Regions from separate parts of the Homo sapiens genome. Here regions 2, 3 and 4 are each linked to region 1. The links are contacts of gene promoters, found by promoter capture Hi-C in human tissues and cell types (Jung and others, 2019). All regions are on one chromosome and are shown on one strand. Each heading gives the region's core, a stretch centred on a gene start or on the middle of the fragment in contact. The rest is flanking DNA. Distances are from core to core; before and after follow the strand shown.

Region 1 (6,679 bases), core at 4,051-6,550:
CAGGGAGATATTATTTTGGGTTCTTGGACCCAATCTTTAAAAGCCTTTGCATGCCTGACCTTAATCCTCAACCCCAACACTACAAACCCCACTTCAGCCCTAAAATGAGTCACAGTGTTTGGAGAAATCATTTAAATGAGCAGCATCAGAAACAGCCTCTTTGGGGGACTCCTAAATGTGTTCAGGCTTTAGGATGGGAGTCTTTGGGGCTCAGAACCCTCTTCAAATATTCTAGGGCTACAGCATGCACTGAGGGCTGAGCAGGGGGAGTAGGAGGGACTCTATCAGGGAAGTCAGTTAAGAGCTGCCCCTGCCTCTCAGGTTCAGAGAAAAAAGAATTGTGAGGCCACATTGTCTGAGCAGGAGATGCTCACCCAGTGCCCTTCCTCCCTTCTAAGCCCTTAGGGTTCCCTCTGTTCAGAACTGTACCAGACAGGAAGAAATCAGCCCAGATTTGGACTGGGTGGGCGCCTGCTGCCCTGTCCCAGGGAGTACATGGTTAGGCTCCTCTCTACTGGGTGGGCGCCCAGACTCAGCCACCTCACAGACCTCTAGGGGTGTTCCTCCAACCTTGTCCACACCCCTAAACATGTCAACATTCCTGAGACCAAAATGGCCGATTCCCCTGAGTCCACCGAAATACAATTTTAAGATGAAAAAGGGGCCTCCCTCATTAATATTTCATCTTCATGACCTTATAATGTTTTGTTTTGTTTTGTTTTGTTTTGTTTAAAAATACCCCTGTCTGATTCAAATGGTTGTCTCTTTGTCTCTGCCCACTTGCTTTTTGCAACAGTGGGCAGAGAGTTGTAAAATGACTGGCTGTTCCCAACTTGATCATTTTTCAGTGATGAAAAGGTATTTTGTTTTCAAGGGAGGTGCCTGTGCATGTTCAGGAATGAAGAAGTGTAAGGATATCAGTGCTTTAGTGCTGGGAAGGTGCGAGCCTGGGTTGGGTCTGGGAGGGGTAGCTAGTATAGCCCAGTGGGTGTATGGGGGGTGGTTAGGGAGAGAATACTACCCAAGAATGTCCAGGGTCCCTCTGTTTGGCCTCTGCACAGTCACTTGACACTCTGCCTTCATCACCCCAGCCCCAGCTCAAACCTTCTCTCCCCCCTCAATGAAATGAGGCCACCGTGAGAAACCGGTCCGGCTTTGCATCTCATTTACATAAATATTTATTAATCGTCATTAAACTGAACAGAAACACGCAATGCACTTCGGGTGTCCGACGGGAGTTTCATCTTCGCTACAAGAGGAAGGTAAAATTGCGTGTGTGTGGGTGAGTGTGTGGGTGTGTCGCCTGTGGGATTGCATTTTTGCATCGTGTATTTGGATGCCTGATCCCCTGCCTCCGGTGGGCAGAGGGTCTCCTTTTGCCCCTTTTTGGGGGAACCTCCAGTAGGAGCCCTCAGACCTCTCCCCGCCCACCCACCAGCTAAAGCCAAGAGGACTCCTTGGACCAAAAAATACTCTCTCCAGACACCGGAAATCGCCAGGTGGCACCCACCGAGGCACAGTCCGGGCAGGGGTGGGGCTGCCCCCAGGTCTCCATCCCCACCCCTCACCCCAGGAGGGGACAGAATGGCCGCGGGGAGGAGGAGCCGGCGAGCTCACCTCCTTCTGCCCCCCGGACGCCGGCGCCGGGCCTGCTTGTGCGTGCGGTGTGGTGTGCGTGTGTCTTTCATGCAAACCCTCCCTCCCCAAACCGACCCCCCAACAGTTTGCCATTCCATACAAATTTGGAAACAGGTTTTTAAAAAACAGCATGACGCACAACGGGGACGGGGCGGGGGAGGGCAGTGGCACTGGGGCCCCAAATCTCCGAGTCACTGATTGTAAGAACCTGGGGAGGGGGAGGGGGCGGCGCGGGCCCCCACTTCACCAAAGTGCACAGATCCGCGCTCGGGCGGGGCGGCCCGCAGGCCGGGCGGGGCATCCCGGGGCCGGGCCGGGCCGCGAGGCTCAGTGGAGCCTCCTTGCATAGATATTTGTGTCTTTGATTATTGGTAGTAGTGGTTTTTTTTTGTTTGTTTTTTTGTTTTTTGTTTTTTTTGCCTTTTATTGCTTCTAAAAGTCCTTACTGCGTTTTCTCTCCGATCCGGACTCTGCGTTCGGCTTCCGTCGCCTCTTAGCTTTTTTTTTTTTTTTTTTTTTTTTTTTTTTTTTTTTTTTTGTATGTTTGTTTGTTTAAAAAAAGGAAAAGGGAAAAACGGATTCTAGTTACAAATTGTCTTGGCCTCTCTCTTTCCTCTCAATCCACTTCCCCTCCCGCCAAAATTAAAATCGCAAAACGCGGAGACTGGAGGTTGGGGGTGAGGGCGTTCCAGGCCCGGGCTCCGGCGCCCTAACTTCTACCCTCTTCAAGAAAGAGGGAGCGCCTGGCTCCTTTTTGCCTCGGCAGCTGGGTGTCTGTTTTTAAAATAATAATGAGAGGGGGAAACGCGTTCCATTGCTCAGCTGCCCCCTTACCAACGCCTTGGGCCTGCAGGGAGGAGGGGGAGGAGGAAACCTCAGCGAAGATATTGGGAATGGGGGAGGGGTGCCTCCAGGGAGCCCCCGGAGAGAGGTCCCTGGAGAAGCACTCCTTGGGAGAGAGGAGGAGGGAACCCCTTGGGGAGAGAGAAGGCGAGTCCCCTGGGGGAAGCGAGGCCCCTGGGACAGGCCACCCACAGGTAACAGGACTGCGCTGCCCCAGGAGAGCGGCAGGACCGGTGGCCCGCTCCCCGCGCCCGGCGCCGGGGTAGGATGGGGGTGTCCCTGCGCTCTGGGGGCTGGGGACAGGGGGGCGGGCAAAGGCAAAAGAAAAAGAAGGGAGCCGGCGCGAAGTCTCAGTTATGAAAAAACGCATTGAGCTCCTCGTACATGGGGCCCCGGTCGTGGTGAAGGTGCATATCGTAAGACAAGAGATTCTCCGAGTGGACGCCCCCGCGCACAGCCGACGAGCCGAAGACTAGCCCGTGGCCCGTGGGCCGCGAACCGGGCAGCGCCGAGTAGTGCATAGAGTAGTGGTAGCTTTTCTCGTGGTCGGGCGAGGAGTCCTGCTTGAGTGAGAAGTTGCCATTGAGACAGAGCGGGGGGCTGAGCGGGCCCTCGTACTCGGAGCTGTTGTAGTCCGGGCTCGCGCCGCCACCGCCTGCCGCCGCATACAGCGTCTCGTAGGCGGCGCAGTAGCCGTGGGTCCGCAGGGCGTGCGCCGCGCCGCCGCCCAGGCCGCCGGCCGCCTGGCACTGTGCGCCCGCCAGGCGCGAGCACGGGTACGGGTAGGGGTGCATGGCGAACGGGCCGCCCGAGCCGTGGAAGCGGCCGGCACCGTCGGCGCCTTGCTCCGTGAGGAAGTTGCGAGAGTTGAGCTGCAGACAGCCGGCCACCAGATTGGTGGTGGGCTGCGACAGACCCTTGCACAGAGTCTGCACGTAGGACACTAGGTCTGGCCGCTTGCCGGAGCGCAGGATCTCCGAGAGCGCCCAGATATAGTTCTTGGCTAGGCGCAGCGTCTCGATCTTGGACAGCTTCTGCGTCTTGGAGTAGCAGGGCACCACCTTGCGCAGGTTGTCCAGGGCTGCGTTCAGGTCGTGCATGCGGTTGCGCTCCCGCGCGTTCGCCTTCTGCCGCCGAAGCTTGGAGCGCTCCAAGCGCGCCTTGGTCATCTTGCGCTTCTTGGGCCCGCGCTTCTTGGGCCGCTCGCCCTCCGCCTCGTCCAGTCCTTCTTCCTCCTCCTCTTCCTCCTCCTCCTCTCCCCCCAGCTCGCCTTCCTCCTTGACCTCGGCCAACGTGGCCTCCGTCCCCTCTTCTCCACGGAGAGGGACTGGCTTGGCCGCCCGGGCTGGCCCCGGAGCCCCTGGCCCGGGCGCAGGCGGTGGCGGTGGCGGCGCGTCGCCCTTGTCGCTCCTCGGCTCGTCGTCTTCGCCGTCGCCCCAGCTGGCGAACTTGGGCACGTCCGAGAGAAGGCCGGGCTCGCTGAACAGGCGGGTCAGCATGGTGCCTGAGGGCGCCCCGCGGGCGGGAAGGGGAGACAGACAGCACAAAGTGAGGGGCGCGCTGGGGTACCGACGCCCCCCCACAACCCTCCTCCACCCCCGAGTCTCGTGCGGGCTCCTGCCTAGGCTACCCTGGATGCCCACCTCCGCCGCCTGCCCCGCCCAGAGCCGGCCCAGCCCTACCCGGCTGCCGGCCTGGGATCTCGGCCCAGGCCCTCTCCCCGGCGCTGGGCCCCGGCTCCGCCCCTCGCTTGAATGGGGGGCTGCTCCCCGCGCCTGCTTCTTCTCAGGGTCAGGGCAGGGACCGGGTGGGGGTTTTAGGGACCAGATATCTTTGCCAGGGGAGGCGGCGCGCTCGCCCTGAAAGCCCGTTCTCTCCTGGCGGTGGAGAGAGGCTGGTCGGCCGCCGGTGGGGACAGCTGCCCCGCTCCGCGCTCTCGCGGCCCGGGCCCCCCGGCCCAGCTCCCTCACCCCTCCCGTGGCTCTCACCCCCACGCTCCCTAATCCAATTTGCAACTTGGCTGCGCGCCGCCCCTTGCTCGGCCCCCACCCCCGCACCCCCAATTCCAGAGGCGGGAGGATCGTCTCCTCTAGCCGATGCGTCCCCAGCTCCCGGAGCCGGCTCTGGGCGGCGAGGACTGAAGCAGCGGGGCGTGGGGAGGAGACTGAGAGAAGCGAGCCCAGTCCGTCCCCTCTGCGGTCAGGGACCCCCTTCCCCCTTCAAGCTGACTCCCTCCCACAAGGCTCTTCAGATCTCGTTGTATTTTGGGATTGATGGGGGAAAAATCCAAATTTGTTTGTTTGCTTCCCTTTTTTCGGTGGTGGGGAAAGGTGGCAGGCTTTTTGGGACAACCATGGAGGGGTCCTCCGTCTCGGCCTCTTCGCATATCCCCCTCCGTGATCCTGCCTTCCCCCCCCACCGAGCCCATCGCAGGCAGAGACACCTCCTCTGCAGCCCCCTGGGCTGCAGCCCCTAAGGGAGAGAGAACCTGGGGCCCCTCCGATGCCCACCCAATGAGGGGGGCATCATCCCAGGAAGGAGGTATTTGAGGACCCTCCTGTCGGCCGAAGCTGCCGCCCCTCCTCCCAACCGGCGGGTCAGATCTCGCTCCCTTTCGGACAACTTACCTCGGAGAGGAGTCAAGGGGAGAGGGGAGGGGAGGGGGGGAGGGGGCAAGAGAGAGAGGGGGGAGAAGAGGGATCTTCTCGCTTATTTCATTGTTCCCCCATCTTCAGGGAGCGGGGGCAGCGGCTCCTCAAGGCGGCGGGCGCCGGCGTCTTCAGAGCGCCATGCGAACCGCGGAGCGAGTGTGGCATCTCTACCAGGCGGGGTACCAGCCTCTATGCCAGGCCATATGGGCTTGGCACGTCACGGGCAGCAGCTATCACATGAGAGACGGTGATTGGCATGCGTCTGCACTGGGGGAGAGCCGGCTCCCCCGGGACCCGCCGCCATCTGTCACTCTCTACTCCAAAAAAAAAAAAAAAAATTAAATAAATAAAGGAAATAAATAAATATTTCTGCCGCCCTCCCCTCCCCGCCCAACGCAGGGAAAGCAGGGATTGAGAGGAAGGTGGGAGGAGTTGCCCCCTGTATATAGAGACCCCCTCACGGGAACAATGGGGTGGCAAGGCTGGACACTGGGGGCTCGTGGTGGCCAATTCTATGCTCCCTCAGGGTCCCGCTCTGTCCATTTCCTCCCCTGCAGGCCCCCAAGGTGGGTCAGGGACCAGACCCCGGGTTGGGGAGAAAGGACCTCTGTGCTTGCCCCCACTCCCCAGGAGGGTCCCCTTGGCCACAAAGGGACAGCTGAGACCCCCTCCCAGGATGGCTGTAAGGGGCGTCCCTGGCCCGAGCCCCATAGGTAGATGTTGGCACCATGCCATCCCTCATCCCTGTCTGCCCCTCCCCCACCCACCCTCACGCACACACAACATATGTGGCTAAACGAAATTCAAACCAAGGGAAAGACAGAGAAAGGGAAAGATGTGCCTGGATGTCTGTGCCTCTGCATGGGCGTGTGTGTGTCTGTGGGGACATGTGTGTATCTGTGGAGTCAGCCGATGGGAGATCTTTCCTTGGTTGTTGGGGGCGTATCCATGTTAGGGTGGAGTGGGGAGGGGCCGCGAGATGAGCCTGTGCACCACCCATCTGGGGGTGGAGGGGAGGGTCTAAGTCTGGATTCCTAACCTAGAAACCTCTCACTCTCCTCCTCCCACTGCCAGACAGGTGACCAGTCCACCAGCGGCTTTCTCTCCTGGTCTTCAGACTTGGTTATTTGAGGGAGGAGGAGCAGGCAGTGCTGAGAACTGCCTAAGTTCCTGGATGAGACTCAAGCATTCTCCTCCCCTTCTGAAAAATCTGAAAATACTGAAGCCAACCCCAGTAATCCCAAGAGTGGCCAAGGGGAGGTAGGTCAGACAGCTGTCTTGATAAGGGAGGTAGGAAGTTGCTGTTTTATCTTGTGGCTCACCTTTCAACACTCTCATTGGGCCAGACACAGATACAAATGGCACAGGTTGAAGAGGTGGCTTTGGACACACACACACACACTCATGCACACACACATACACACACACACGGATGCATACACATGCACACATATACCTGTTCCTCACCCTGTGGTGTAGAAAAATAGATAACATACCCCTACTCAGATAGACACATGTATGTGAGCAGGTAATCACAGCCTGGTGTA
Region 2 (5,877 bases), core at 17-2,516, 240 kb after region 1:
AATATCGACCACAGGATATCCAAATATCCAGATAAAATATTTTTAAATGAACATACATGTATGTATACAAATATATACTTAGCATCATGTTTTCATCAGGATTTTTGGGTATCATTAGATAAAACCATTTTCTTATTTCATTTAAAAGCCAGAGTTGTAATCTAGCAGAAAACTCTAGTTAATACCTATTTCATTTGTCTTTTTGCTCTTTCCACAACTAAATAACCAATCTCCTGATATGTTTTAAGGTTTAATTAAAACATAAGTGTTTTCCATTAACACCTTATCTCTTAAATAACACATCTTCTAAAGGACACAACTAGTCTACTACTGAGATACTGACATATATATTAGACTGTAAAAGTTAAAGCTTATTTCTTTTGCAGTGTTCCACAGCACTCTCCCATTCATAGCTACTCATAGCCATTCTAGCAATCTCAAATTGTTTTCTACCAGTATAGAAAACAAGACTTCATCACATGCTTACTAAGAGATGATAATTTCAAATTCGTTTTTGGCTTTTTAGATTCTCTTTTCATTGACGATGACACTATATAAATTTTCTCACCGGTTAGTTTTTTTAAGATACCAAGGTTTTTTTTTTTTTTTTTTTCAGAGTTTCTAACATTTCATGTGCTGTAAAACGAAAGGGGGCAGATTATAAATAAAATTTAAACTTGGAAATGGCAGGAGTCTAGTTAATTGAGATTTCATGGAAGTTCACATATGAATGCTTTACCTATTAGTTCAAGTATAAATTAGCTATGAAGAAAATCAAATATTTACATTAGCAACAAAAATGTACAATCATGTTTTTAATTCTAATGGTTATAAACTTGCCTTTATTTCTAATACTGTACTATTAAATAATTACCATTGAATTAAGAATATTAGCTAACAAAATTTTCCTCTTAATTTCAGAGATCATATTTCTACTCCATGGTCTGTTTTCCCAGTAGGAAGTATAAGCACTAAAGGAAAGCAAAATGTCAAATCTCAGAAAGAATCCTGTATTGAGTTTGCCAGCTGTCAGGCACCAGAGGTGCCTGGCAGCTGCCAGAAAGCTATCTCTGAATGTTGATATTCCATTCCTTCTTTATAATAGTAAATGGAGTCCTTTATACCCATACCTCTTTTTTAAAAAGAAAAAGTTTATCTTATCTAAAATGTTCACTTTTACTTTATAATTAAAAGTTTTAGAAATTGAGGCACTGATTATAAGAATGTTTTCAGAATTGCAACATTAACACCTGGGACTGTAAATGTGGCAGAGAAGCGTTCGCTGTCATTTCTGCAAAATCCTTTACCAGTTCTCCGTATCACCATCATATATAATCATTCCTCAAATTCCATCAGTACAAGAACAGTTCTGTAGGATGAAAAATGATCCCTATAACCGATGAAATTAGCATATTAGAATCGAAATTATTATCATAACTAGCTTACCTCTCCTTCCTCTGCCATCTGATGTTTGAATGTCCTCTAATATCCCCCTACTTGGGTTATACAGCCTCTGCTTGAACACTTCGAATAATACAGAAGTTATTCCTTTCCATTTCAGAAAAACTCTAGTAGTTAAAAGCATTCTTTCTTAAATGTAGCTGAACTCAAATTTACTGAAATGTCTATTTCAGGTCCTAGTTCAGCTTTCTGGGAACATACAGGATAAGTTATAGCTCAGATGTTACCACCCAGTTTCCTGACCATGGTGAGAGCTGTCTTCTGAACCCGTTTTTGTTTGCCTGTGGCTCTCCAAAAACGTGGCATCAAGCACTCAGCCTAATAGTGCAATGAGATTTCTTTTTTTCTCATAACAATTCTGGAAGATAAATAGGGGCAATGGCATTTATTATTTTCCCCATTTTACAGACAAAATCCAAGATACAAATAATGACAAAAAACATAAAGGCCAGTAATCGCCCAAGGGCACAAAGTCAGTGACACATTAAGAAGAGAAGCAGGATTTGTCTCTTGAGTTTTACTGTTGCTTCAGAGAATTTAAATCGTGTTTTAAATGCCTTCCTATACAGATTACAGATTTTAGAAGGCCAGAACTAGAAGAAATTTTAGATCCAATTAATTTCAAACACCCTAACTGACTGTGCATTATTGCTGATTGAGGGGAAAGGAAGATAACAAAAACAAAGACATGCATTAAAGTGAGAGTAATCCCTCCAATCATGAAATACTTCCTTCCCTATTTCCTTGGGCTAAGGTAAATGTTAAGAAACATCAAGACTGCTTGCTTAAAAACACCAGATCAAATACAACCAAGTTACTGTTCCAGTTCTTCCTACCCTCCCCCTTTAAAAAAAAATAAAGCATTCCATTTTTTCTCCTAGATTAAGTGTTTAATGAGGAAACTGTAGACCGTGGGGCACAGGTGAACTGCTGACAACTGTTGTTAAAACAACAAAGTCAGTGTCTAGTGTTATTTTCCTTCAAAGGTCAGTTACCCTTAAGTTGTAGACAAAAACATACATTCCAATTTTACCTTGTATATCACATGCTACCAAATGAACATGCAGAGAGAAAAGGAAAAATGGGCATTTCATGTCATTGCTACTTTAAAAAGATGTTTCTGGTAAAATGATTGAATCTAACATATTGAAATGAAGACTTGTTTTATAACTGTAAAATGCCTAGTTTTATAACTGTAAAATAGCTGGAGCCAAAAATAGAATCATTAATTTGAAGTGGGTAACAGAGCTAAATATGAAAGTTGAAACAATCAAACTTCTAGAGGAAAACAGAATATTCTCATGACCCTGGAGTAGGTAAAGATTTATTTTTCTTTTTTTCTTAGAGACAGGGTCTCACTCTGTTGCACAGGCTGGAATGCAGTGACATGACGTAGCTCACTGCAGCCCGGAACTCCTGGGCTTAAGCAATCTGCCCACCTCAGCTTCCTGAGTAGCTGAGACTACAGGTGTGCATCACTACACTCAGCTAATTTTTAAAAAAATGTTTGGAGAGATGGGGTCTCATTATGTTGCCCAGGCTGGTTTTAAACTCTTGGCCTTGAATGATCCTCCCGCTTTACCCTCCCAAAGTGGTAGGATTACAGGTGGGAGCCAACGTGCCTGGCAAAGAATTCTTTAGCAAGATATAAGCAGCACTTAGTCACAAAAAAGAAGCTGATAAATTAATCTTCATTAAAATTAAGAATTCTATTCATCAAATAGATTAAGAAAAATAAACAAGTTACAGACTGGGATAAAGTATTTGTATTACACATCTGACAAAGTACACATTACTGGCTGGGTGCAGTGGCTCAAGCCTGTAATCCCAGCACTTTGGGAGGCCAAGGCAGACAAACCACCTGAGGTCAGGAGTTTGAGACCAGCCTGGCCAACATGCTAAAACCCTGTCTCTACTAAAACAATACAAAAATTAGCCAGGTGTGATAGCACCTGGAAAAAAAAAAAAAAAGCCCACAAAATCAGTATGAAAAAAGACAACCCAATTAAAAAAAAAAAATCCAGCCAGGCGTGGTGGCTCATGCCTGTAATCCCAGCACTTTGGGAGGCCAAGGCAGGCGGATCACCTGAGGTCAGGAGTTTGAGACCAGCCTGGCCAACATGGTGAAACTCCACCTCTACTAAAAACACAAAAATTAGCCAGGTGGGGCGGTAGTCACCTGTAATCCCAGCTACTCAGGAGGCTGAGGCAGGAGAATCGCTGGGAGGTGGAGGTTGCAGTAAGCCGAGATTGCACCACTGAACTTCAACCTGGGCAACAGAGCGAGACTCCGTCTCAGGAAAAAAAACAAAACAAACAAACAAAAAAACGTGAATGACCAGAAAACCTTAGACGCTTCAGGAAAGAGGATCCAAAATGGCCGATAAACATAAGAAAAGACACTCAATGTAATTACTCATCAGGAAAATGCAAATTAAATTAAAACCACAATGAAATACCACTCACTACACACCCAAAAGAATGGTAAAAATTAAAAAGACTGATAATAGCAAGTGTTAACAAAAAGATGTGGAACAAGTATAACTCTCAGACATTGCTAGTGGGAGGGTAAACTGATCCAACCACTTTGGAAACTCTTTGGCAATATGTATCAAACCTAAACATACACCTATATTAGAACCCAGAAATGGTATTCCTGGGGGTGTGTGTGTGTGTGTGTATATATATAATATATAGTATATTATATATGTATATATACTATATGCATATATACTATATAGCATATTATATATGTATATATACTATATGTATATATACTATATAGCATATTATATATGTATATATACTATATGTATATATACTATATAGCATATTATGTATGTATATATACTATATAACATATTATGTATGTATATATAATATATAGTATATACAATATATAGCATATTATGTATGTATATATAATATATAGTATATACAATATATAGCATATTATACATGTACATATAATATATAGCATATTATACATGTACATATAATATATAGCATATTATATATGTATATATAATATATAGCATATTGTATGTATATATAATATATAGCATATTGTATGTATATATAATATATAGTATAAATATATAGCATATTATACATGTACATATAATATATAGCATATTATACATGTACATATAATATATAGCATATTATACATATTATACATGTACATATTATAGCATATTATACATGTACATATAGTATATAGCATATTATACATGTACATATAATATATAGCCTATTATATATGTATATATAATATATAGCATAAATAACATATAGTATATATACTATATATGTATATGTATATATACACATATTATATATACATTATATATAATACATTATATATATACATATATAATAGGCTATATAGTATATATACTATATATTATATATAATATATAGTATATATACATATCTAATATGCTATATAGTATATATACATATATAATATGCTATATAGTATATATAATATATAATATGCTCTATAGTATATATACATATATAATATACTCTATAGTATATATTATATACGTATATTATATATACATATATTATATATACGTGTATATATTATATACACGTATATTATATACGTGTATATATTATATATGTGTATATTATATACATGTATATATTATATACACGTATGTTATATACACGTATATATTATATATACTATGTGTATATATATATATAGAGAGAGAGGGAGGGTCTTGCTCTGCAACTCAGGCTGGAGTGCAGTAGTGTGATCATGGCTCATTGCAGACTTGACCTCCCAGTATTGGGACTACAGGAGCACATGACTAGGCCTGGCTGATTTTTGTACTTTTTCTTGTAGAGATGGGGTTTCACCATGTTGCTCAGGGTGGTCTTGAACTCCTGGGCTCAAGTGATCTGCCCGCCTCGGTCTCCCAAAGTGCTGGAATTACAGGCGTGAGCCAGCGTGCCTGGCCACCTAGGTATATATTCAAGAGACATGAATACATATAGGCCCACCAAAAGACATGCAAAAGAATGTCTGTAATACAGCCAAACACTGGAAACAATCAATTGTCCATCAACATCAGAAGGTATAAATTGTGGTATATCCATACTATTCGATCATAAAACAGAGTGAACTACTAATAAATATAACAACTTGGATGGATCTCAAAAATCTATTGAGGAAAAGAAGCTAGACCCCAGAAAAGCATATATTGTAAAATTAATTTATATGAAATTCAACAACAGGGAAACTATCTATGAGGATACAAGTCTGAATAGTGATTAATTTGGGGCAAAGGGGGAAATTAACAATAAATGGACAGAAGGAAACCTTCTAAGGTGATGCAAGTGTTCCATATATTGATCTGGAAGGTTGTATAAAGGTGAAAAATAATCAAGCTATATACAAAA
Region 3 (6,099 bases), core at 3,214-5,713, 150 kb before region 1:
CGGGACGCAGGGCACCAGCAGTCCCTACTCTTCCCGGGAAGGATCAATCTGAAGTCCCCGGCGGCAAGAAGAGAAGGGTGCTCGAGGCCGCCGCCATCTTCCCCAACGGAACTTCCCAAAATTCGCGAGATAAACCGTGGTCCTGCCAGAGAGAGGAAGAGGACAGGGCATCGAAATCTCGCGAATATTGGTCAATGCGTCGGCCTCGCGAGATTTCTTTCAGCGCAGTCTTCCCTTTGATCTGAGCTGTCTCAGGCCTCGCGCCGCTGGATATTAAACCTGCCGGCCGGTAGCTTTCGGCTCCCCTGCGGAAACCGCCATTTTTTTTTTATTTTAGCAGTTAAACAGCTCGCAAATTAAAATCTCCAGATCCCTGTACTGAAAGACTAGCTTTTCTTTTTTTTTTAATTTTTTTTTTTTTTTTTTTGAGATGGAGTCTTGCTCTTGTCGCCCAGGCTGGAGTGCAATGGCACGATGTCGGCTCACTGCAACCTCCGCCTCCCGGGTTCAAGCGATTCTCCTGCCTCAGCCTCCCGAGTAGCTGGGATTACAGGCACCCGCCACCACGCCCAGCTATTTTTAGTAGAGACGGGGTTTCGCCGTGTTGGCCAGGCTGGTCTCGAACTCCTGACCTCGCTGTCCGCCCGCCTCGGCCTCCCAAAGTGCTGGGATTACAGGCATGAGCCACCACACCCGGCCATGACTAGATTTTCAAAGGCTATTGGTATCAGGAGTGTCTTATGAAAGATAAGTTTAACCTGAGATACTAGATGCAATAATTACATCCTAAGAAAGATAGTGGCGCATTGTAACATGACGTTCAAAGCGAGCCTATAGCACAGTTAATTCCCCTTTTCTCATTTTTTTAGTTTCAAAACTATTTCTGGCTAGGCGCAGTGGCTCATGCCTGTAATCCCAGCACTTTGGGAGGCCAAGGTAGGTGGATCATCAGGTCAGGAGTTTGAGACCAGCCTGGCTAACATGGTAAAACTCCGTCTCTACGAAAAATACAAAAATTAGCCAGGTGTGGTGGTGCGCTCCTGTAATCCCAGCTACTCGGGAGGCTGAAGCAGGAGAATCTCTGGAACCCGTGAAGCGAAAGTTGCAGTGAGCAGAGATCGCGTCACTGCACTCCAACCTGGGTGACAGAGTGAGACTGTCTCAAAAAGAAAAAACTGTATCCTTTACTATCCTCAAACTAAGTGTTCTTCACTTAGTAAGCATCTGTGGAGTCCTAATATGTGTATATTTGGAGCTGCTAATACAAACATGAAAACACGGCTGGTCGCGGAGCTACTCAGGAGGCTGAAGCAGGAGAAGCGCTTGAACCTGGGAGGCAGAGGTTGCAGTGAGCCGAGATCATGCTACTGCACTCCAGCCTGGGTGGCAGAGCAAGACTCTGTCTCAGACAAATAAACAAACATGAAAACACAACCCTAGCGCTTGATAGGCTAATCTTATTTAGAGTTCCGAAAATATGATTGGTCACTATAATCATAGGGGCTCAAAATTTTTTCATTAATTATTATGCCCTAAGTACCAATGCCAGATACCCAACTACACTTTATCATGGAAACTCTATACAAATAAAAAAAAAAGTCTGTACTAAGTGTTGCTAGGAAATTTTTAACTTTATAAAGCTTATAAATAAACTTTACTAACTTCTGGTTACAGAATGGAATGAGAAGTTATCATTTGTCATCTGAAAATGCAGATGAGAGACACCATTGGAAAAGTTCTACTCTAGAAGATAAGAGAGCAATGTCCTTTGGGAGGCTGAGGCAGGTACTTGAGATCAGGAGGTCGAGACCAGCCTGGCCAAAATGGTGAAACCCCATTTCTACTAAAAATACAAAAAATTAGCCGGGTGTGGTGACACATGCCTGTAATCCCAGCTACTGGGGAGGCTGAGGCAGGAGAATCGCTTCAATCCGGGAAGTGGAGGTTGCAGTGAGCCAAGATCGTGTCATCGCACTCCAGTCTGGGCAATAAGAGCAAGACGGAGTCTGAAAAAAAAAAAGAAAGCCATGTCATTAAACAAGAAAAGTATTCAAGGTACATATAGGAACAGTATACATAGGAAAATGGGTACAATGGGCAAATTGTAAGTGACTAAGCTTTGAAGGAGGCGCCAAAGGACTCTTTTTTTTTTTTTTTTTTTTTTTTTTTTTTTGAGACAGTGTCTCGCTCTGTCGCCAAGGCTGGAGTGCAGTGGCACAATCTCGGCTCACTGCAACCCCCGCCTCCTGGGTTCAAGCAATTCTTCTGCCTCAGCCTCCCAAGTAGCTGGGACTACAGGTGTATGCCACACCACCCAGCTAATTTTTTTGTATTTTAGTAGAGACAGAGTTTCACTATGTTGCCCAGGCTGGTCTCGAACTTGAGCTCAGGCAATCCACCCACGTTGGCCTCCCAAAGTGTTACGATTACAGGCATGAGCCACTGTGCCCGGCCCAGAGGACTCTAAACCTAAAATCTAAACTAACAAATTGGTTTGTTGGGGAAAAAGAGCTATTGAAACTTTAGTTAAATATTTCTTCTTGTGTACAGCCTAAATGGAAACTTTCTGACTTGTTTTAGTAGATTTGCAGGCTAAGTATTGCCATCACCTGACTGATCACTTGGGGTTCACAGAGTTGCCCTGACTCTCTGCCCTTGAAGGTTATGCAAATAAAGCAAATGGAGCAGTCCTGGAATTTCTGAGTTCAAAGTTTTTCTGTATAATGAAGCAACCCTTATTTTACAAAAGCACAGATTGGATCAATACCTGCAGTTTACAGTAGATATTGTATTTTAAAATTTAGATACAGCCTGAGATTTTCTGCTGCAGAATTTTATTCACCAAAAAGAGGAATACCATGTTAGGGAGATTATCTAAAAGAAAGAGAGAGAGAGAAAGAAAGGAAAAGAAGGAAGGAAGGGAGGGAGGGAGGAAGGAAGGGTAGTTCAATACAAAGTACTGGTTTAGTATGTAGAAGTGAGGTGTCCCGGCTCCAGGCACTTTCTACACTTAAGTGTCAACATGGTCCAATCTAACTCCTTCTCAGTGTCAGTTTAACCTATATTAGATGTCGATAATAAGTGGCTCACGCCTATAATCCCAGCCCTTTGGGAGGCTGAGGTGGGTGGATCACTTAAGGTCAGGAGTTCGAGAACAGCCTAGCCAACATGGCCAAAGTCTGTCTCTACTAATAATACAAAATACAAAATAATACAAAAAAATTAGCCGGGCATGGTGGCGCATGCCTGTAATCCCAGCTATTTGGGAGGCTGAGGCAGGAGAATTGCTTGAACCTGGGAGGTGGAGGTTGCAGTGAGCCAAGATCCTGCCAGTGCACTCCAGCCTAGGCCACAGATTGAAACTGTTCTCAATAAGCATAATAATAATAATAGGCCTGGTGCGGTGTGGTGGCTCATGCCTGTAATCGTGCCACTGCACTCCAGCCTGGGCGACAGAGGGAGACTTAGTCTCAAAAAAAAAAATAAAAATAGTAATAAAAATAACATAATTTCATTAGTTTATTTATTCAATTGAAATTTATTGACGGGATTAAAAGAGTTCCGTGAAAAATTTTAAAGTGCTATAGAAATTCAAGATATTATAAGTTCAAAGTTTCAGGGATAAAGCTTCATTCTTTCATTAGTTACTGGTCTCTAATTGGCTTCAAGAGGCAGTAACAGATAATTTTGAAAGGTTCAGCCAGGTGCAGTGGCTCACGCCTGTAATACAAACACTTTGGGAGGCCGGGGCGAGCAGATCACGAGGTCAGGAGATCAAGACCATCCTGGCCAACACAGTGAAACCCGGTCTCTACTACAAATACAAAAAATTAGCCGGGCATGGTGGCAGGCACCCGTAATCCCAGCCATTTGGGAGGCTGAGATAGGAGAATGGTGTGAATCCGGGAGGCGGAGCTTGCAGTGAGCCGAGATCGAGGCGAAGCTTGCAGCGAGACGAGATCGCACCACTGCACTCCAACCTAGGTGACAGAGTGAGACTCCGTCTCAAAAAAAGAAAAAAAGTTTCTGCTGGTGTTTAATCTGGATAATCAATTTAATTCTTCCAGATTTTGACACATCACCGATGCCTTCTGTCGTCTTCACTTTTCCATTCTACTGTGGGTACATCGTGAATTAAAAACTTGATCTCAGCCAGGCACAGTGGCTTGCACCTGTAATCCCAGCACTTTGTGAGGCCAAGGCGGGGGGTGATCACAAGGTCAGGAGTTCAAGACCAGCCTGGCCAAGATGGTGAAACCACGTCTCTATTAAAAATTAAAAAAAAATCATCTGAACATGGTGGCAGGCGCCTGTAATCCCAGCTACTGAGAAGGCTGAGGCAGAGAATTGCTTGAACCTGGGAGGCGGAGGTTGCAGTGAGCCGAGATGAAGCCATTGCACTCCAGCCTAGGCAACAGAGGGAGACTCCATCCCAAAAAAAAGGCCAGGCATGGTGGCTCACACCTGTAATCCCAGCCCTTTGGGAGGCCAAGGCGGGTGGATCATGAGGTCAGGAGTTCAAGACCAGCCTGATCAACATGGTGAAACCCCGTCTCTACTAAACATACAAAAATTAGCCAGGCATGGTGGCGTGTGCCTGTAATCCCAGCTACTAAGAAGGCTGAGGCAGGAGGATCGCTTGAATCAGAGAGGCAGAGGTTGCAGTGAGCCAAGATAGTGCCACCGCACTCCAGCCTGGCAACGGAGCAAGACTCCATCTCAAAAAAAGAAATTAAAAATAAAAACCTGATCTCATTTAAAAGACAGAAAAATCAGGGTGAATTTTATTGAACTCATGACAACAAACCCATGCCAACACTTACTATGGCTGACTGGTCACTACATTTAATCAGCCCAGGAAGTCTCATGCCATCTGTCATCATGTAAAACATTCAAGGCCAGACACAGTGGCCCATGCCTGTATTCCGAGCATCTTGGGAGTCCAGGTGGGAGGATCCCTTGAGCCGAGGACTTCAAGAGCAGCCTGGGCAACATAGCAAGACCCCGTCTTTACAAAAAATAAAAAAAAAATTAGCCAGGCTCTGTGGCTTACACCTGTAATCCCAGCCAGGAGAGGCTGAGGCTGGAGGATTGCTTGAGCTCAGGAAGTGAAGATGGCAGTGTGTCAGCCGGACACAGTGGTTCACACCTGTAATCCCAGCCCTTTGGGAGGCCAAGGTGGGTGGATCACCTGAGGTCAGGAGTTCGAGACCAGCCTAGCCACATGGCGAAACCCCATCTCTACTAAAAATACAAAAATGAGCCGGGCATGGTGGCAGGCGCCTGTAATCCCAGCTACTCAGGAGGCTGAGGCAGGAGAATCACTTGAACCCAGGAGGTGGAGCTTGCACTGAGCCGAGATCGTGCCATTGCACTCCAGCCTGGGGGACAAGAGCGAGACTTCATCTCAAAAAAAAAAAAAAAAAGACTGCAGTGTGTCATGGTCATACCACTGTACTCCAGCCTGGGCAACAGAGCAAGACCTTGTCTCAAGAAAATAAATCCAGGTTGTCCTGGCAACACTGTACTCCAGCCTGGGCAGCACAGCAAGACCTTGTCTCAAGAAAATATATCCAGGGTGTCCTATCCTCCTATAGCGGTGAATAAGGAGTGTTCACAACTGAGTTCCAGTACTTGTGTTTTTCTTTTCTTTTCTTTTTTTTTTTTTTTTTTGGAGACAGTTTCACTCTTGTTGCCCAGGCTGAGTGCAATGGCACCATCTCATCTCACCGCAACCTCCACCTCCCGGGTTCAAGCAATTCTCCTGCCTCAGCCTCCCTAGTAGCTGAGATTACAGGCATGTGCCACCACGCTGGGCTAATTTTTGTATTTTTAGTAGAGACGGGGTTTCTTCTTGTTGGTCAGGCTGGTCTTGAACTCCTGACCTCAGGTGATCTGCTTGCCTCGGCCTCCCAAAGTACTGGGATTACAGGCGTGAGCCTCCATGCCTGGCCCGTGTTTTTCTTTTTTCTTTTCTTTTTTGAGGCAGGTTCTTGTTCTGTTACCCAGGCTGGAGTGCAGTGGCATGATCATGGCTCATTGCAGCCTTGACCTCCTGGGCTCAAGTGATCCTCCCATCTCAGCCTCATAGTAGCTGGG
Region 4 (5,913 bases), core at 3,084-5,583, 200 kb after region 1:
CTTGTGGAGAAAAGAATATACCAAACCACAAATTGCTGATAAAGGTAATTGCTATACATTCCCAGAGGCAGGGAAAAGATGTCTAAATTGAATCTAACCCATAGGAAATTAGATTAAACTAAACTTTCTAAAGGAGCTACTCTAGGGTACAATTGCTCCCATCTTTGTCTATGTTTTCAGGCCTCTTAGGAAGATGACACACACGAACACACACACACACCCCAGAGAGAATTTTGTAGGCTGAAGAGAACAAAGGTTTGGCTCACTGGGGCTGATGCACATGGTTTCATTTCCTGGGGTGATGGTTATCACATGAAAGGCTTGTACTCCAGAGCAGACATTTTTGGTTTCACCTGAGACACTGCAAAAACAATGGGTCCTGGAAAGGATCCAACATCTAAATCCTTCAGGGGCAATAGCAGTCTCAGCCAACTGTGCCTCAGTTTGTTTTTACAGGCACATAAAATGCTCAGTTGGAGAGAAGAACCTATCAAAGATGGCAAACAGAATAGACAACTTGGGTATCTTGGAGAGCATGTTGATACTAGGAATTTCCCAGTGGAAAAAAGAGATTCTGAATTTCCACCTTAAACTATGAGATCTCAGAATCCAACTCTACGAAGGACAAAGTTGGAAGTAATATCCTCAGGTCTGCCGGAGATATTGTGAGAAGGGACAAAACAAGATAGAGGCTGTTAGGGAAGGCACAAAAGGGTGATGTTATTTAAGTGTTTTACAAGGATCGGGGGTCATAACCATGAAATCTTCAGCAAATGCAAAAGTCAACTGGATAACAAAGAAGCTTAATCATCTTAATGTGGCATTTTAATGATGCCACTGATTTGCTATGCCAATTCAGAGATAATGAGGCCCTAATGCTACAGATGTTCAGCCAGGCTAAAAGAAAGGGGGTGGGGGGGGGCTTTTCTAGCACGCCATTTTCTAACTATCCAATTAAACAAATTGTGAAAGCATCTAAATAGTTTACCAGGTTTTGACAGCTGTTAATAGGATTTAGAAGCTTGAAGCACTAAAGAGCAAAATGGGAAATATATGTATTGTAGGTATTCAGTCTACAAAGTTTGTTACTGTCGCCCAATCTAGCACAAACAGATGAACTAGAACAGTTTTCCTTATAAAATTAATGTCTATACTTCTCTCCCACAATGACCTCTTTGTATTAGGAAGAAGAACACTGAAACGATGGGTCATTTTCATTTTCTAATTTACATTTTTGCATGTAAAGTAATGAGAGAGAGAAACCGATGATATTTTTAGAACTAAAGAGTAAGGAAAGTTTTAATATTTGCTAACCAGTAAAATTATAAAGCTTCAATGCAAACTAAACTTTTGGTCATTGATTTATAAAATCTATTATGTTTTCTTTTTTTCTCTTTTAAAATTTAAAATAATGGACGTCTGTTAATTTTGAAAATGCCTATTTTTAAATTAGGAAAAAACTGGAAAAGGTAAATCAGGCTAACAAGAGATGAAATACTGGCAGGGCGCAGTGGTTCACGCCTGTAATCCCAGCACTTTGGGAGGCTGAGGCAGGCGGATCACGAGATCAGGAGATCAAGACCATCAAGACATGGTGAAACCCTGTCTCTACTAAAAATATAAAAAATTAGCCGGGCATGGTGACGGGCACCTGTAGTCCCAGCTACTCGGGAGGCTGAGGCAGGAGAATGCTGTGAACCCGGGAGGCGGAGCTTGCAGTGAGCCAAGATCGCACCACTGCACTCCAGCCTGGGTGACAGAGTGAGACTCCATCTCAAAAAAAAAAAAAAAAAAAAAAAAAGAGAGATGAAATACTGATATCTCAATACAGGTTTGGATAAAATTCTATAGATTTAAGTTCTCATTGAAATACATTTTTGGCCAGGTGCAATAGCTTACATCTGTAACTCCAGCACTTCAGGAGGCAGAGGTGGGAGGATCGCTTGGGCCCAGAAGTTTGAGACCAGCCTAGGCAACAAAGTAAGACCCTGTCTCTACAAAAAATCAAAAAATTAGCCGGATGTGGTAGTGTGTGCCTGTTGTCCCAGCTACATAGGAGGCTAAGGCAGGAGATTCCCTTGAACTCAGGAGGTCAAGGCTGCAGTGAGCTGTGTTCATGCCATTGCACTCTAGCCTGGGAGACAGAGCGAGACCCTGTCTCAAAAAAAAAAAAAAGAAAAAAAATTAAAGTCATGAGAAAATAGCCAGGTATGGTAGAATACCTGGGAATAGCTGGGAATACAGCATGCCTGTAGTCCCAACTACTCAAGAGGCTGAGAAGGGAGGATCACCTGAGCCTGGAGAGGTCCAGGCTGCAGTGAGCTGTGATCATGCCACTGTACTCCAGCCAGCCTGGGCAACAGAATGAGACCTGTCTCAAAAAAAAAAAAAAAAAAGAATCTAAACTGGCCATCAGTAAATCACATCACTTCAAACACAAGAGCATTAGCATGTAAAAAGTTTCATTTGCAAAGGAACTACCCTCAATTTTACTAATAACATTAATTTTTGCCTTATCTGACTATCAAATAGCTCATTCATGGGCATAATAATAAAAATAATTTTGCTTAATAATTTCAGTGCAATTCTTTGCTTCCCCATTAGAAGAAGAGGAGATTTACTACTTTTACAACAGAAATACACTATACATCAGCAGTAGGTAAGGTTCCAGCTGCTCAGCTGGGCTAAGCTCTTCAAATGTCATGGGGCCAGGTATAATTCTTTATCTAGAATTGTGAGGACTGAAGGCCATGATGTATGAAAGGTCTTTCTAAACTATAAAGAGTCTACAAGTATATTGTTTCATTTCTGCCCATTATAACAATTACTTTTTCTATTGATTATTTTCATCTATGTATTAAACTCTTTTGTATTTATATTTTTGAGAAATAACTGCTACCCATCAAAAAACAATGGATGAAATACATTTAAAGAGGCTGAAGTTTTAGATGTTGCCTAAACAAGCATAGACTAAAGTAGTTACCTGGTAGAAACTTCATTTGTAAATCCGAAAGAAAAAAAACTTCCTTTTTCATTCAAAATTCCCTTGCATAGAATATTCACTCTATCTTTTTTTTTTTTTTTTGAGACAGAGTTTCGCTCTTGTTGCCCAGGCTGGAGTGCAATGGCGCGATCTCGGCTCACAGCAACCTCCACCTCCCGGGTTCAAGCCATTCTCCTGCCTCAGCCTCCGGAGTAGCTGGGATTACAGGCATGTACCACCATGCCCTGCTAATTTTGCATTTTTAGTAGAGGCAGGGTTTCTCCATGTTGGTCAGGCTGGTCTCGAACTCTGGACCTCAGATGATCCGCCCACCTCGGCCTCCCAAAGTGCTAGGATTACAGGCGTGAGCCACCGCGCCCAGCCACTCTATCTTTTTTAAAAACAGGAATGAAAAAGTTTAAAGCATGTTAAAATACAATTCTTAGTAAAATTCAAAAACTGTCATCCAAATACAATTGGCTAAAAAACATTCTGACTGTCACAATACCAAACTCAGGGTCACAGGTAAAGGAAGGAATGAAAAAGTCTTCTATATCCAGAGCATAAGTAGTTCTTGGTGTATATAGCATGTTTTGTGTTATATCACAATTAGTGTATTTATCTCCCATATAGACTAGGAGTATTTTCAAGGTGGGGACCAGGTTTAAATAATATTTGTGTCCCCAGAACCTAACAAGGGCCTCGTTACTTTAGAAATTGAATGAATGGGCCGGGTGTGGTGGCTCATGCCTGTAATCCCAACACTCCAGCACTTTGGGAGGCCAAGGCGGGCAGATTATTTGAGGCCAGCAGTTCGAGACCAGCCTGGCTGACATGGTGAATCCCTGTCTCTACTAAAAATACAAAACATTAGCTGGGCATAGTGGCACGCGCCTGTAATCCCAGCTACTCAGGAGGCTGAGGCAAGAGAATCGCTTGAACCCAGGAGGCAGAGGTTGCAGTGAGCCAAGATAGCTCCACTGCACTCCAGCCTGGGTGAGAGCGAGACTCTGTCTCAAAAAAAAAAAAAAAAGAAATTGAATGAATGAATGAATGAACTTCTTGGGCAGCCTGAACCAATTTAGTGATGATAACTAGGCCAGGCAGAGAAGAAGTAGTAGATCACAATAGACCCCTAACTTGTCTACAAGATTCTGATGCTGTCATGCAGTATGTAGTTTCTCTTAATGCATCAGAATAAGGTCCATGGCCCACAGTGATAGCCAGTCATCTAGTTGACTTCTTTGCCCATTGTGGTCTGGCTTCTGCCCTTCCTGCTCCACCATTTTGCAATAGGATGCCACTGGCCAGTCCCTGCTTTTTAAATCTCTTTCCTTGGCTTATTCTTTGCTGGTCCTACTCCTACCTCACTTATTTACTTATATCCTCTGTTTATTCCTCTTTCTCTATCTCCTAGATGTGAATTATTTCCTAGGGCCTATTTCTTGAAACTTTTGCCTTTTCACTTTACATACTCTGTCTCCTGATCCAAGTTTTTATTGCTGTTGACTCTCAAATTTTTATTTCCGGTAGACCTGGAAAGCCATAGACATATACTTCCTGACATGTACAATCACTTCCTGAATTTCCAACACTTATCTCACACTCAACAAGTTGCAAACAAGCTCCTTATCTCTCCCATTTCTTCTCCGCTTTTCCTATAATATTCCCCGTTGTCCTCTCTACATAGTGGCTGTTTGATGTCAACGTCTGTATATTATGCTGCTTCTATCAACATTTAGCACTGATACAGAGCTCAGTGACTACTTACCAAACAAACAAGGAAGTAAGGAAGGAAAGAAGATAAGAAGGAGGAAAGGAAAGCGTGAACAACTATACTATTATTTGCTTCAAGTACAAAATTAGGGTTGACAGTGTTTTTAAAAATTGTACAGATTGCAATTTTGCCTAAAGCTAGCATATTAGCCGAAGACAGAGGGAAAAAATAAATTGTTATTTCTAACTCAAGGTATAACAATCAGACCCAAAGCGTATAAAGGATTCTTGGATGAGAAGGAAATGAGTATAAGGATTAAGAATTAGAAGACTCTTGTTCTTTTTAGCATTACATTAAAATACAAAATAAAAATTAACATTTACCATCTGTAACATATTATTTAGACTTTTACCCATCTCTGGTTCTTCCCTTCCTTCTTCCCTGGTTCTCAAATAATGGAATTAGAGCACTGAGAAATAATAGAAGAAACTCAGCACTGACTTCTCCTGGGTGAATGTACAACATTAAAAGCACACAAGGGAATGAGCTATCTTGTCACTGGAACATGTTCATCCCTGGGGATAAAGTGTAACAACTGCTTAACAGCTGCCCAGTAACATACTTCAAGGCTGCAAGCAAAGATGCATCCTAGCTCTACTGGAAACTGCAGAGGGAATATTGTCTGGCAGAATAAAACTAGAATAGAATCTGGCCAACAAACTGCAATCTATGTCCTTTCTATTTCAAACAGCAGCTTCTAATGATCACAGAGAGGTTTCTACTAACAATATTCAAGTAATATTGGATGGGTATTGGTAATTACAGGGAAGGAACAATATGGTATTTAACTTATTTTTTTCCACTGAAAATAGAGTTGAATGACTTCTTTTTTTTTAAGTTTCTGATAAAAGAGCATGGGCTTTGGAGTAAGACAGAACCCAGGTTCAAGTTGTACTAACTAGCTGTGTGACCTCAGCAAGTAATTTGACTTCCGTGAATTTTCTCATTTGTGTTGCAGTAATGATAATATCTATACCTAATAGGGCTGTTACAGTAATGAAATTAAGCAAAATAATGTATATATAGGCGTAGCATAGTAGCTGGCACATAATATGTTCATGACCTTGAGACAGGCAAAGATTTCTTAGATACAGCACTGAAAACATGATTCATAAATGAAAATATCCTGCAACTCAGTAAGACAAATAATCCA

The links. Contacts are between HindIII fragments. The study calls those that stand out against the background at their distance.
Region 2: a contact is called between a fragment that was not itself captured here and the fragment with the promoter of NEUROD2 in region 1, in 3 of the 25 tissues and cell types used here (adrenal gland, mesenchymal stem cells and spleen).
Region 3: a contact is called between a fragment that was not itself captured here and the fragment with the promoter of NEUROD2 in region 1, in 1 of the 25 tissues and cell types used here (dorsolateral prefrontal cortex).
Region 4: a contact is called between a fragment that was not itself captured here and the fragment with the promoter of NEUROD2 in region 1, in 2 of the 25 tissues and cell types used here (mesenchymal stem cells and ovary).

What each region holds. Positions count from the first base shown.
Region 1 is chr17:39,602,620-39,609,298 of GRCh38, forward strand. NEUROD2 (neuronal differentiation 2) reads right to left here and starts at 5,301. Exons shown (of 2, transcript NM_006160.4): 1 at 5,109-5,301; 2 at 1,149-3,985. The coding sequence starts at 3,980. The coding sequence ends at 2,832. The HindIII fragment of the contact is 16,482 bases long and covers 1-6,679 here.
Region 2 is chr17:39,845,894-39,851,770 of GRCh38, forward strand. The region is part of intron 1 of IKZF3 (IKAROS family zinc finger 3); the gene reads right to left. Among named protein-coding and RNA genes, the nearest start is that of IKZF3, 15 kb to the right of the region's middle. The HindIII fragment of the contact is 5,152 bases long and covers 1-3,842 here.
Region 3 is chr17:39,451,149-39,457,247 of GRCh38, forward strand. MED1 (mediator complex subunit 1) reads right to left here and starts at 115. Exons shown (of 17, transcript NM_004774.4): 1 at 1-115. The HindIII fragment of the contact is 5,170 bases long and covers 1,879-6,099 here.
Region 4 is chr17:39,800,446-39,806,358 of GRCh38, forward strand. The region is part of intron 3 of IKZF3 (IKAROS family zinc finger 3); the gene reads right to left. Among named protein-coding and RNA genes, the nearest start is that of IKZF3, 61 kb to the right of the region's middle. RefSeq lists a silencer at 317-517. The HindIII fragment of the contact is 6,845 bases long and covers 912-5,913 here.